Regions from separate parts of the Homo sapiens genome. Here all the other regions are linked to region 2. Evidence: promoter capture Hi-C in human tissues and cell types (Jung and others, 2019). All regions are on one chromosome and are shown on one strand. Each heading gives the region's core, a stretch centred on a gene start or on the middle of the fragment in contact. The rest is flanking DNA. Distances are from core to core; before and after follow the strand shown.

Region 1 (2,745 bases), core at 114-2,613, 580 kb after region 2:
GACTCCTGTGGGCCATGCATCAGTTCCCCTGTACTGCCTGGCTTCCCACCATAGTGTCTTGCTGAGTCAGCCAATGCTCAGTGTCACTGATGCTATGCCTCACTGCCCTTGCCCAAGTCACCCAGATCAGTGTTGATCAAAAGATGCACCTCACTCTCCTAAGCTGCCCTCGAAGATTTTAGCAAACTGGCTCTTTTCATTCTAGGGCCACTGCCAGCCCATCCAATGCCCTTATCATAATAGAAAAAGCTGCCCCTTCCTCAGGTAGATACCGCCCATGTTGGAGAGGACCATAGGCTGGATTTCAGCCCTCCCCATGCTCCTGCCAGGCACCCTTGTGTGTGGCACCACCTGCCCAGCCAAACATGGCAGTCTCATGCTGTTCTCACCATTTGGTTGCAAACCTCTCACTGTGGGTTCTAGCAGGTGTTGGCCAACAAGGGCCGGGCCCAGGGACAGTCCCGGAGCCAAGAATGGGGCTGTGCTCAGGCCATCCCAGGTGTTCCCACAGCACATGGCCATGGGCACTGTGGAACATGATATTTGAGGGATGAAATGCCTTTTAAGGTAAAATGTAAGTGAAGGTCACTCTGCCACAGGTTAAGCTACTCCGTGAGGGTTTGTCTTCTAGTTGTGCCACTCTTTTGCTCAAGAATCTTCTGTGACTTCCTCAGCCTGGCCACTCACTGGCCCTCAACAGGCCATGTGTTCCTCCTGTGCTCCCAGTGGCCCATACCCTCTTCTCATCCCACCTAAGTCCTCTTTACTCTTCACTCCTCTCTCTTAAGCTTTTCCTAGCAGAGGTTGATACTATCTCAGTTTCCTAGAAACCCGTGCCATTTAACTTCCTTCACATCTCCCCGTTTCCGCAGTCAGGCTGTAGGCGGCATCCAAAGCTTTATCTGGGAAAGGGAGTCTCCCCGGGTCTTCTCCCCATCACTGGCTCCTCTAAGTCTGACAGTGATATTTTCCCACAGAAATATCACCAAACCCAGCACTCTCAGCAGTCCAAGTCCTTGCTCTCAGAACTTGGGAGATGTGATGGGCTTTACCCTCAGGCAAGTCTAGATTTAAATTCTAGTCCCTCATGTACCTCAGTGGGGCCTCACTGCTGAGTTACACAATCACTCTGCCTCTACAGAGATTCCTCTTTCACCTGAGAAATTTATTTCTGCCTCATCAGCACCTGTAATGTGGTTCCCCTACCCCGGCCCTATCCCCTAACTTGTATTATTGCCAACAAAAGGATTAAACGCCCTCCTTGTCCTTCTGTTTGTGGAGCACTTTTGGGACCCCTTTGGGGCTGTGTCATGAGGAAGCTCCCATGGTCCCTGCTGTATTTGCCAGTTAAATTCAGCATCCATGCTCTGCAGCTGATGTCGTGCCTTCATGTGGAAGATCGTGGAAGAATTTCTGGAGAAAGTATGGAGGATTGACATACTTTAACAGGGTTTCCCCCTGCATATTTTGGTGTCTGAAGAAGCTAATATCAGGAAATACTATGTCCTGACCAATTCATAATTTTTATTCCATGTTAGTATAAATAAATTGGATAAACCAAACAAAATGTCATGTCATGTTGGAATGTTTACTTTCAGTTTCCTAAACGATTTCCTATGAGAATAGCCAAGCCTGGAGTGTGTTCAGGATGTTCTATACATAGATAATTTGCCCAGGAATGCTATATTTTCACTTCTGTAAGAATAGCATTGTGGACAGAGGGAGAAAAGCATGGGACTAAAATGTATGAAAATTAGACTGGGCATTGTGGCTCGCGCCTGTAATCCCAGCACTTTGGGATGCCAAGGTGGGTGGATCACTTGAGGTCAGGAGTTCAAGACCAGTCTGGCCAACATGGTGAAACCCTGTCTCTACTAAAAATACAAAAATTAGCTGGGTATGGTGGTGGGCGCCTGCAATCCCAGCTACTTGGGAGGATGAGGCAGGAGAATCGCTTGAACCTGGGAGGCAGAGGTTGCAGAGAGCTGAGATCATGCCACTGCACTCCAGGCTGGTAGACAAAGAGAGACTCTGTCTAAAAAAAAAAAAAAAAAAACCTCCAGATTTCCACCTGCTGTTGTAAAATGGAAGATCTGCTGAGACGGTGAGACGGATTTAAAAAAAAAAAAAAAAAAAGGTATGAAGATCACTGGCTGGATTCAGATCCTAGCACCACCACAGCTGAGCCCTCTGACTCTGAGCAAGTTTCTTAACTGCCGTGCCTGTTTCCTCCTCTGCCTAATGAGGATTAAAATTTTACCCATCTAAAGAAGACAGCAAAAATTAAATGAGACCCACACAATTGTGTGTGTTCAGCACAATTAGTGACATGTGAGGACTGATCCATGTCAGCTTTTGTTCTTACTACTCAACTGAAATGGATTCCTGTAATGGCTGAGTGGGTTTATTTTGCCAGGTGTCCTCTCTCTTCATAGTTTACACCTTTCCTCACATTCGTGTTGTTTCCTGACTCTTGTTCAACCAGAGGTGATATGATTTGGCTGTGTCCCCACCCAAATCTCGTCTTGAATTATAGTTCCTATAATACCCATGTGTCATGGTAGGGACCCTGTGGGAGGTGATTGAACCATGGGTGCGGTTACCCCCATGCCGTTCTTGCGATAGTGACTGAATTCTCACAAGATCTGATGGTTTTATAAGGGGCTTTGCCCCCTTTGCTCAGCACTTATCTCTCCTGCTGCCCTATGAAAGAGGTGCCCTCTGCCATGATTGTAAGTTTTCTGA
Region 2 (2,783 bases), core at 272-2,771:
CTGAAGGTGAAAGGTGCATCTCACATGGCAGCAGATAGAAGAAAAGAACTTGTGCAGGGCAACTTCCCTTTATAAAACCATCAAATCTAGTGAGACTCATTCGCTATCTGGAGAACAGCACAGAAAACACCTGCTCCCATGATTCAATCACCTCCCACCAGGTCCCTCCCACAACAGGTGGAAACTGTGGGAGCTACAATTCAAGATGAGTTTTGGGTGTGGACACAGTCAAATCCTATTAGTGGGAAAAGGTTTGTGAGATCTTGTTTTAATGTTTGCTTTGTTGTTTAATCTGATTGCAAGTGAGGGTTAAAAACATTTTCAACCTGTTGACCATTTGCATTGTTTGCTGAATTATCTGCTCCTGTCTCTCTGAGGTCTCCCTCAGACCTGCTGAGGTCTTAGCATCTTTCCTATTCATATGAAGTCTCTCTCAGCGAAGGATTTTAATCCTTTGTTGTGTTCAGTTTATTTTCCCTAGGTTATCTGCTTTTTAATTTTGGTTTTCCTTTTTAAGTAGAAGCTCTGAACTTTGTGCCTTAGTGTGTGAGGTTTTTGTTTTTGTTTTTTTTTGAGATGGAGTCTCCCTCTGTTGCCCAGGCTGGAGTGCAGTGGCACGATCTCGGCTCACTGCAACCTCCGCCTCCGGGTTCAAGCAATCCTCTGTCTCAGCCTCCTGAGTAGCTGGGATTACAGGCGCCCGCCACCATGCCCGGCTAACTTTTTTATTTTTTTTTATTTTTATTTTTTTAGTAGAGACGGGGTTTCACCATCTTGGCCAGGCTGGTCTCGAACTCCTGACCTCGTGATCCACCAGCCTCGGCCTCCCAAAGTGCTGGGATTACGGGCGTGAGCCACCGCGCCCGGCCAGTGTGTGAGAATTCTTCCACCACTTTTCATCTTAAGAAATCCTCGGCCACCTGACATTTGATAAACACGACTTAAGTTTTCTTGGTCCCTGTTGTCCGCATCCATGTTTTACACTCGTGGATTTCTGTTTTCTTCTCGGGGTGGGGCAATGCCTCCCCTGGTGCGGCCCTCAAAGGCCCAGGAGCGCAGATCCCGCCGCAGAAAGACCCCTCGCCCATCTGCGCCCAGCCCTTCCCCGCAGGAGGGCTCAGGGGACCCCACGCTACTGGAATCCACCCCGAGTCACAGCTACAGATCATTACCCACAAGTGGGGTCAAAGGCCTCTTTACGGGCGAGAAAGCTGCGGCTCAGCAGAAAGCCAAGCACTTTGGGAGGGAGGAGCTGAGGTGCCTTATTACTCCGAACAGACGCGAAAACAAGCCAGGGCCCGCGCGGGTAGACCTGGTAGGCGGGTGGGCGGGGCGAGGGCCACTTCCGGGGTGTGGAACCCTGTCGAGCCCCGCCCCGAGCCCCGCCCCGAGCCCCGCCCCGGGCCCTGTGGTCCCGGGATGAGCTCTCCGCGCAGCCAGGCTCGCTCCAGTGCCCGCCCAGCGCTGACTTCATTGGCTGCCTCCCCAGTCCCGCCCCCAGGGGGGCCCTGCTGATGTTCGTAGCCAATCCGCAGGCGCGGTGGCAGCTGCGGGTCGCGGGTCGCGGGTCGCGAGTCGCCGGTCGCCGGTCGCGGCGGAGCCTGGGCGCTGAGGTACCGGGGCCTGGACGAGGGGGCCGCGGTCTGGCTAGGGAGCCGCGCGGGCTCATGGCGGTACGGCGACCTGGCCTCGCTCGAGGGTTCGCGGGCGGGCCGCCCCTCCCCGGGCTCCTAGGGGGACGCTCCAGCTGGAGGGGCGGTGACCGCGACTGTCGTGGGCTGGCCCCAGGTGGCTAGGGTTGGGGGTCAGAGGTCAGAGGTTCTGCCCTCTGGAATGTTAGGGCCCCGCCCGTGGAGCCGTGGAGCCCTGGGGCCGGGCCGCTCCCCATTTTCCTGTCAGCTCTTGTTGAGGTGCCCCATCTTTTCGCAGAAGGGACTTGGAGGGAAGCGGGCCTGGAGCTGCTGCCGCCGCCCCTGAGCTCGGACGCGAAGGCTGGCCCCGTCCCCGGGCTGCCGCCGTGGTCCTGCAGGTGACCCTCAACCCCCCGAGGACCGCCGGCCGCCTCCCGCCTCCGGGCAGGCTCAGGAGCGCGCGGAGCGGGGTGTGGGCCTGTGACCCTCGAAGGCGTGGGCGGGGAGTAGGGGGTCGAGCTGGGGCCGCAGGCTGTCCCCGTACGGGCTGCTCCCCTGTGGCTCCGAAGCCACCTTTTTCTGAAGTTGTCAGCCCGCGTGTTTGAGATTTCGTTTCTGGAATCTCACGCGAACAATCTGGAGAGAGGAACAGGGGTCTTGCGGCTTTGGCTGTTGACTCAAGGGGAAAATAAAAACCAGACAATGGGGATGTAATGAATGCAAAGTGACCCGTGAGCAAACTGGACGCTTTTCTCCGGCTGACAGGCATGAGTTCTCCCCGTAGCTTGCCCCACATACTGTGAGTTAAACTGTGTCAAAGTAAGAGCAGTTTAGCCCCACAGTTCTGAGCAAGAGTCCTTAGCGCTGACCTTCTTAGTGAAGATACTTTGCAATGTGTAAAATATTGAATACAAAATTATTGTGCAAAGCTTCTGAGTTGAAGATTCTGAGTGCGCGGAGGCTGGCGGCAGCCCTTACTTGCCATTGCAAGGATCTCAACTTACTACTCTGAGAGCAAAAGTAGTTGTTTCTTTACAGATGTGGGTTTAGGGGAGACAGCTATGGATGAGGAACAGGGGCGGGGTTCGTTTTCTGCACAAAACGTATGCGATTAGAAAAAACAAAGGGTTTTTATTCTGCCTATCTTCTTCC
Region 3 (2,700 bases), core at 98-2,597, 870 kb after region 2:
GGTACACGGAAGTGAAGAGAGTACGTGCATCTGTGTGGTGGCGGCGGGGGACAGAGACAGAGGCGTCTTCCTGTGGACGGCAGGAGCGTCCTGGGCTGTTCCGCTGAGATTTGGGCTCTGAGTCATGGGGTGCTCGCGTGGAACAGTAAGACCGAGTTCAACTGAGAACGCCCGCACGTATCCTATGTTAATTTTTCTTTTGCAAACACATTTGCATCTTTTACTTTCATTTTAAACTGCGCCCCGTGCATATGTGCACTACCAACCCATCCGGGTGACGGGCAAGTTGTATCTACTCTGGGAGCCTCCTCCTGCCTGCGAGGCAAGTGGCGACCCCAGAGCGGGAGGTGGGAGCCCCCTTTTCTTACGGTTCTCGGACCGCAGATTTTCCATCAACACTCAATTAGGTTTAAAGATACACTAGGGTGTGTACTGAGATAGTTCAAAATGATTTCCTTCCAACATAAAATGGATCGTGAACCACGGGAATCCTGAGCCCTCCACTTCCCAGCGAGGCAGCATGACTGGTGCTGTGAGACGGATCCACCAGTGATCGAAACCGCGTTCTGCTAGGGAAATTGAGGTTTGGACCACGTGGTCAAGGACAAATGAAAAACCTTTTACGCATTTCCAAATATCAAAATTAAAGAATTAAAAGAGAAAAAAACCCCAAGGAGTTCATATCTTCCCAAACCACAAAGCCACGCCCGGGCCCCACTCCCTTTTCTATCCACTTTAGCACATGCCGAAGCCCAGCGTGGCCTGGGACCACGTGAGGGACGGTGGGCGTGGCCGGGGCGCAGTCACGTGGCCGCTATGCACGCCGAGCCCCACCTCCAGCCAGCCCCTCCTTGGCGGCTGCAGGAGCCCAGCCAGCGATCCAGGCGGCGTTTCCAAACCCAGATCCACGCCTGTACCTGCAATGACTTACAGGATATTTTAGGAATTAGTCCAACATATCCTTTGGGATATCCTTTGGGGTCTGTAAGTAATACTCAAATAGATTTTACCTATCTCGCTGTATTCTGCAGCCAACTTTAAAACATTCATCTGGAAACTGCAAACACAAAATAACCCTTAGTGCATGATATTGTGAATTCTGTGCCCGTCTCCCCTTCAAAAGCTATATAGTATATACTTAGTACACAAACTAACTCAGAATCATGTATCCTACTGTAAGGAGTCCTCTTTGGTCCAGCAAGCATGTGTGATCTGATACCTAGCCTACTGAGATGCCTACGATTCTTTTCTTCACATCTCCCAAATATAACAGCTACATTTCAGACTCCTAAAATTTAATTTGGAATGAGTTACAAATATCAGTGAGGAAAAACGAGGGCCACAGGAAGCTTAGTATAGCTTGCACGCTCTTGTGTGAGGGCCATAATAAAATTACAAACTGGGATGGATTGCATGATATTTAAAAAATTTAGCCATTCGGTTTCATCAAACAGAAGCATGAGATTTGATAAAATGTTACACTTGAGGAGTATAAATCTTTTTTATTTTAAAAATAATAGAAAAGACCACATAGAGTAAAATCAAAGAATACAACAGACAATTTTTTAAAACTTTCTTTTGGCTAAAGAGTTATTTTTAGGCTGAGCGCTGTGGCTCCCGCCTGTAATCACAGCCCTTTGGGAGGCCGACTGGAGAAGATAGCTTGAGGCCAGGAGTTCAAGAGGGACCTGGGCAACACAGACCCCATCTCTACGAAAAATTAAAAAATTAGCTGGGCATGGTGGCACACGCCTGTAGTGGCAGTTACTCAGGAGGCTGAGGTGGGAGCATTAACTTAAACCTGGGAGGTTGAGGCTCCTGCTCCAGTGAGCTATGAGAGCAACACTGCACTCCAGCCTGGGTGACAGGCCAAGATGTCTCAAACAACAAGTGATTTTAGTATTTCAGTGATGGAAAATTCTGAATAATGATTTCTTCATACCAATTAGATTTGGGACTGCTGAAATTTAATTAAATAGGGGGCCTCCTCCAACTTGTTTGCCATGTTGGTAATGTTTGCCTATTTATTTGAGACAGTGTCTTGCTCTGTTGTCCAGGCTGGAGAGCAGGGGCATGATCACACCTCACTGCAGCTTTGACCTCCTGAACTCAGGTGATCCTCCCACCTCAGCCTCCCAAGTAAGTGGGACCACAGGTGCATGCTACCATGACAGGCTAATTTTTTTTTTTGTAGTGATGTGGTTTCCCTATGTTGCCCAAGCTGGTCCCAAACTCCTGGCTCAAGCAATCCTCTTGCCTATGGCCTCCCAAAGTGCTGGGATAACAGGCATGAGGCACCACACCCAGCCACGTTTATTCTAAAAGAGGAAAGCAACACTTTGAACACTTCTTTTAATTACAGCTTTAAAAACTCAGAAATAAAATGTCACATGATAAATTAAATTCATGGTGTTGATGTAAACCTTCCCAACCCATCTCAAGCATCTGGGCTGTGCTTCAGAGTCAGTTCCCCAATAGCATTCTCTTGAGTATCAAAAACGAGAGATTTGCAGCCAGGACCAAAACTATGAGACTATTTTGGCAATTAACATCTCCTGTCATCTTCTTCACCTCCTTTGTAGGGAGAAAGGGCAAGAACATTTCAAATAACATTCATATGTGGGATTTCTTAAGCTTCTGCATATTTTTTCTTCTTCATGTGACTAGTAATTGTCCTCCCAAATAAAAGTGGACTTGCCA
Region 4 (2,700 bases), core at 6-2,505, 520 kb after region 2:
TTTTTTTCTGCATTTTTTCCCTGTGCCTTGGGAAGGCTACATTTTGTTTTCTTTGCTCTCATGAATCATCTAAGCTAAAATCAGACAATTGTATATACTTACTTCTTCTTTTTTTTTGTTTGTTTGTTTTTTGTCTTTGAGACTCTCTGTCACCCAGGCTGGAGTGCAGTGGCGTGATCTTGACTCACTGCAACATCCACCTCCCAGGTTCAAGCGATTCTCCTGCCTCAGCCTCCCAAGTAGCTGGGATTACACATGTGTGCCACCACGCCCAGCTAATTTTTGTATTTTTAGTAGAGACAGTGTTTCACCATGTTGACCAGGCTGGTCTCAAACTCCTGACCTCAAGTGATCCACCTGTTTTGGCCTCCCAAAGTGCTGGGATTACAGGCATGAGCCACTGCACCCAACCTGTATATTCTTATTTCCTTAAGCTTGATTTTGTTTCTTTGTCTTGCTCTCTCTTGATTCATTGAAGTTGTGAGGTTTGGAAAGTTATTCTAACACAAGTTTTCCAAAAGGAAAGGGGATGGGGAAGATTTCTCCCTTAACTCGTACTTACTAGGAAGGAGGAGAAAATAATGGAGAAGTGATGTGGCAAGGGGAACAGAATATGTATCTACCTGCCATCACCTCATTGAGATGATGGGGTTCTACTTAGTTCCATAAGCTGCTCCAGAAATGCTTCCCAGTGGAATTTTTGATACTTCAATAATAACCTTTGCTCTTAGATCCCATAGTCCTCCCAAAATTGGTCCAGTCAGAAATTTCTACATCTAACTTTTGCTTTCTGGACTCAGCATTTAAAAAAATTTTTAGTTCTTACCATCACCTGAGGTTCCTTGATGTCTAAGTTGCATTTTCTCTGCTTCTCTCTTTTGGACATAAAGGCTCTTACAGATGCTCACATGTTCCAAGTCCTGCTTCTCCCTTGCCTGCTCCCTGAGAACATCCTGCTCTTCTCCAGCAGACATGTTTCTCCTGTCAGCTGCTCCTGTGGGACACTATGTGCCTAGAATACTTTTTGCTTACTTAACAAAGAAGGAAATTGCTTTTTTTCTCTGGGACTCTTCCTAATCCTATATTTCTGTGGTTGAAGATATGCTCTTAACTTACACAAGTCTCATTTTTGTTTTTATTATTATTATTTTCAATGTGGGGAAGCCAAAGAAAAACCACATGGCACAGGTTACTCTCATATACTTTATCTGCTTTCTATTTCTTGAATCTCCTAAAGCTTTAATGTTTTAGAGCACTGCATTTCTGTCTTTCCTTTTCTGACATTATACCCTTATAATGTACCTTTTCCTAAATATATGAGAATAATGATTTAAATAATAGAATCATGTTTTAAAATGACATGTTATTAGTATTAATATGTAACATAAATATATAATCATATATCTCTAAATAAATAACACAACATATAATAATATATATCAAATAATAGGCAGGGCACAGTGACTTACACCTGTAATCCCAGAACTTTGGGAGGCCGAAGCAGGCGGACCATTTGAGCCCAGGAGTTCGAGACAGCTTGGGCAACATGGCAAAACCCTGTCTCAAATTAATACAACTAATACATAATTACAAATACAAAAAATTAGCCAGGCGTTGTAGCATACACCTGTAGTCCCAGCTATTCCAGAGGCTGAGGTAGGAGGACTGCTTGAGACCGGGAGGCAGAGGTTGCAGTGAGCAAAGATCATGCCACTGGACTCCAACCTGGGTGACAGAGTGAGACCCCTTCTCAAAAATATAATAATAATGATTTTTTTAAAACCACACTAGCTACCAATTATTGACCACCTTCTGTGTCAGGCTTTTGCTAAGTGCTTTACAGATGTCATCTCCTTTCATTCTTAGTCCTCTCTGTGTAGTGGATACTGTTAGTATTCCCATGTTCAAATGTAGCATCTAAAGCTGAGAGAAGTGAGGTCACTTCCAGGGTCACACAGGCAGGAAGCGATAAAGCTGGAAAGTGGCCCAGCAGAGCCCTGCTTATTCAACGCTAGTGTCCAAGCTCCTGACCATGGCACACATTACATTCACTGATGTAGACTGGAAACCCCACAATGCATTCAACAGAGCAAAGCCTTTACCTGTATGTATCAGGTGATAAAAAGATACCCAGATGTAATTCTTTTCTCATGTTGGCTATGGAAAATCCCATTTGTTATCTTTTGGGATTGGTTTCTCATCAGATTCTGATCAGTGATATTCACACAAAGCCTTTCCTTTATACTGGTGCTCAATATTCTTGCCAAATTCCAGAGTTTTTAAAAGGAAACTCTGTTGCCTTAGTAATACCAGAAATTGCATTTGTTTATTGCTTGTTAAAACGAGTCTCCATCCCTATGAGATCTGAAACTTGTCTGCAATGAGATAGTGTCTCCTCTTGTGCTCTGTAGAATTACTGCGTATAAACTTTCATTCAATAAAATATGCCATGGCTTAAGTTGTGCACCTGCCAAATTAACATACTGCCACATTCTGTTATTCAAAATTTTCTGTCTTTTCATCTGTCTAGTGTATTTCTTAAGCTACCAAGTACATTGTGGATACACTAGATAATAAATCCTCAAATCATCCCTGGCAGGTAGCCAGAAATGGAAAGGAGAAAATATTGCTCTCAAACATTACACATAAGAAAATGGAAACACACAAGATTACCCGAAATTGACTGATGCTTTAAGTAAG

What was found. Contacts are between HindIII fragments. The study calls those that stand out against the background at their distance.
Region 1: a contact is called between a fragment that was not itself captured here and the fragment with the promoter of LYSMD4 in region 2, in 1 of the 25 tissues and cell types used here (mesendoderm cells).
Region 3: a fragment that was not itself captured here is called in contact with the fragment with the promoter of LYSMD4 in region 2 in 1 of the 25 tissues and cell types used here (dorsolateral prefrontal cortex).
Region 4: a contact is called between a fragment that was not itself captured here and the fragment with the promoter of LYSMD4 in region 2, in 3 of the 25 tissues and cell types used here (dorsolateral prefrontal cortex, mesendoderm cells and spleen).

What each region holds. Positions count from the first base shown.
Region 1 is chr15:99,156,523-99,159,267 of GRCh38, reverse strand. All of the region lies in intron 11 of TTC23 (tetratricopeptide repeat domain 23), which reads left to right. Among named protein-coding and RNA genes, the nearest start is that of TTC23-AS1, 19 kb to the right of the region's middle. The HindIII fragment of the contact is 3,393 bases long and covers 1-2,745 here.
Region 2 is chr15:99,732,175-99,734,957 of GRCh38, reverse strand. LYSMD4 (LysM domain containing 4) reads left to right here and starts at 1,521. Exons shown (of 3, transcript NM_001284417.2): 1 at 1,521-1,613. RefSeq lists silencers at 1,192-1,921, 1,962-2,071. The HindIII fragment of the contact is 11,257 bases long and covers 1-2,783 here.
Region 3 is chr15:98,863,585-98,866,284 of GRCh38, reverse strand. The region is part of intron 2 of IGF1R (insulin like growth factor 1 receptor); the gene reads right to left. Among named protein-coding and RNA genes, the nearest start is that of MIR4714, 81 kb to the right of the region's middle. The HindIII fragment of the contact is 4,208 bases long and covers 1-2,700 here.
Region 4 is chr15:99,208,805-99,211,504 of GRCh38, reverse strand. All of the region lies in intron 8 of TTC23 (tetratricopeptide repeat domain 23), which reads left to right. Among named protein-coding and RNA genes, the nearest start is that of TTC23, 39 kb to the left of the region's middle. The HindIII fragment of the contact is 3,671 bases long and covers 1-2,700 here.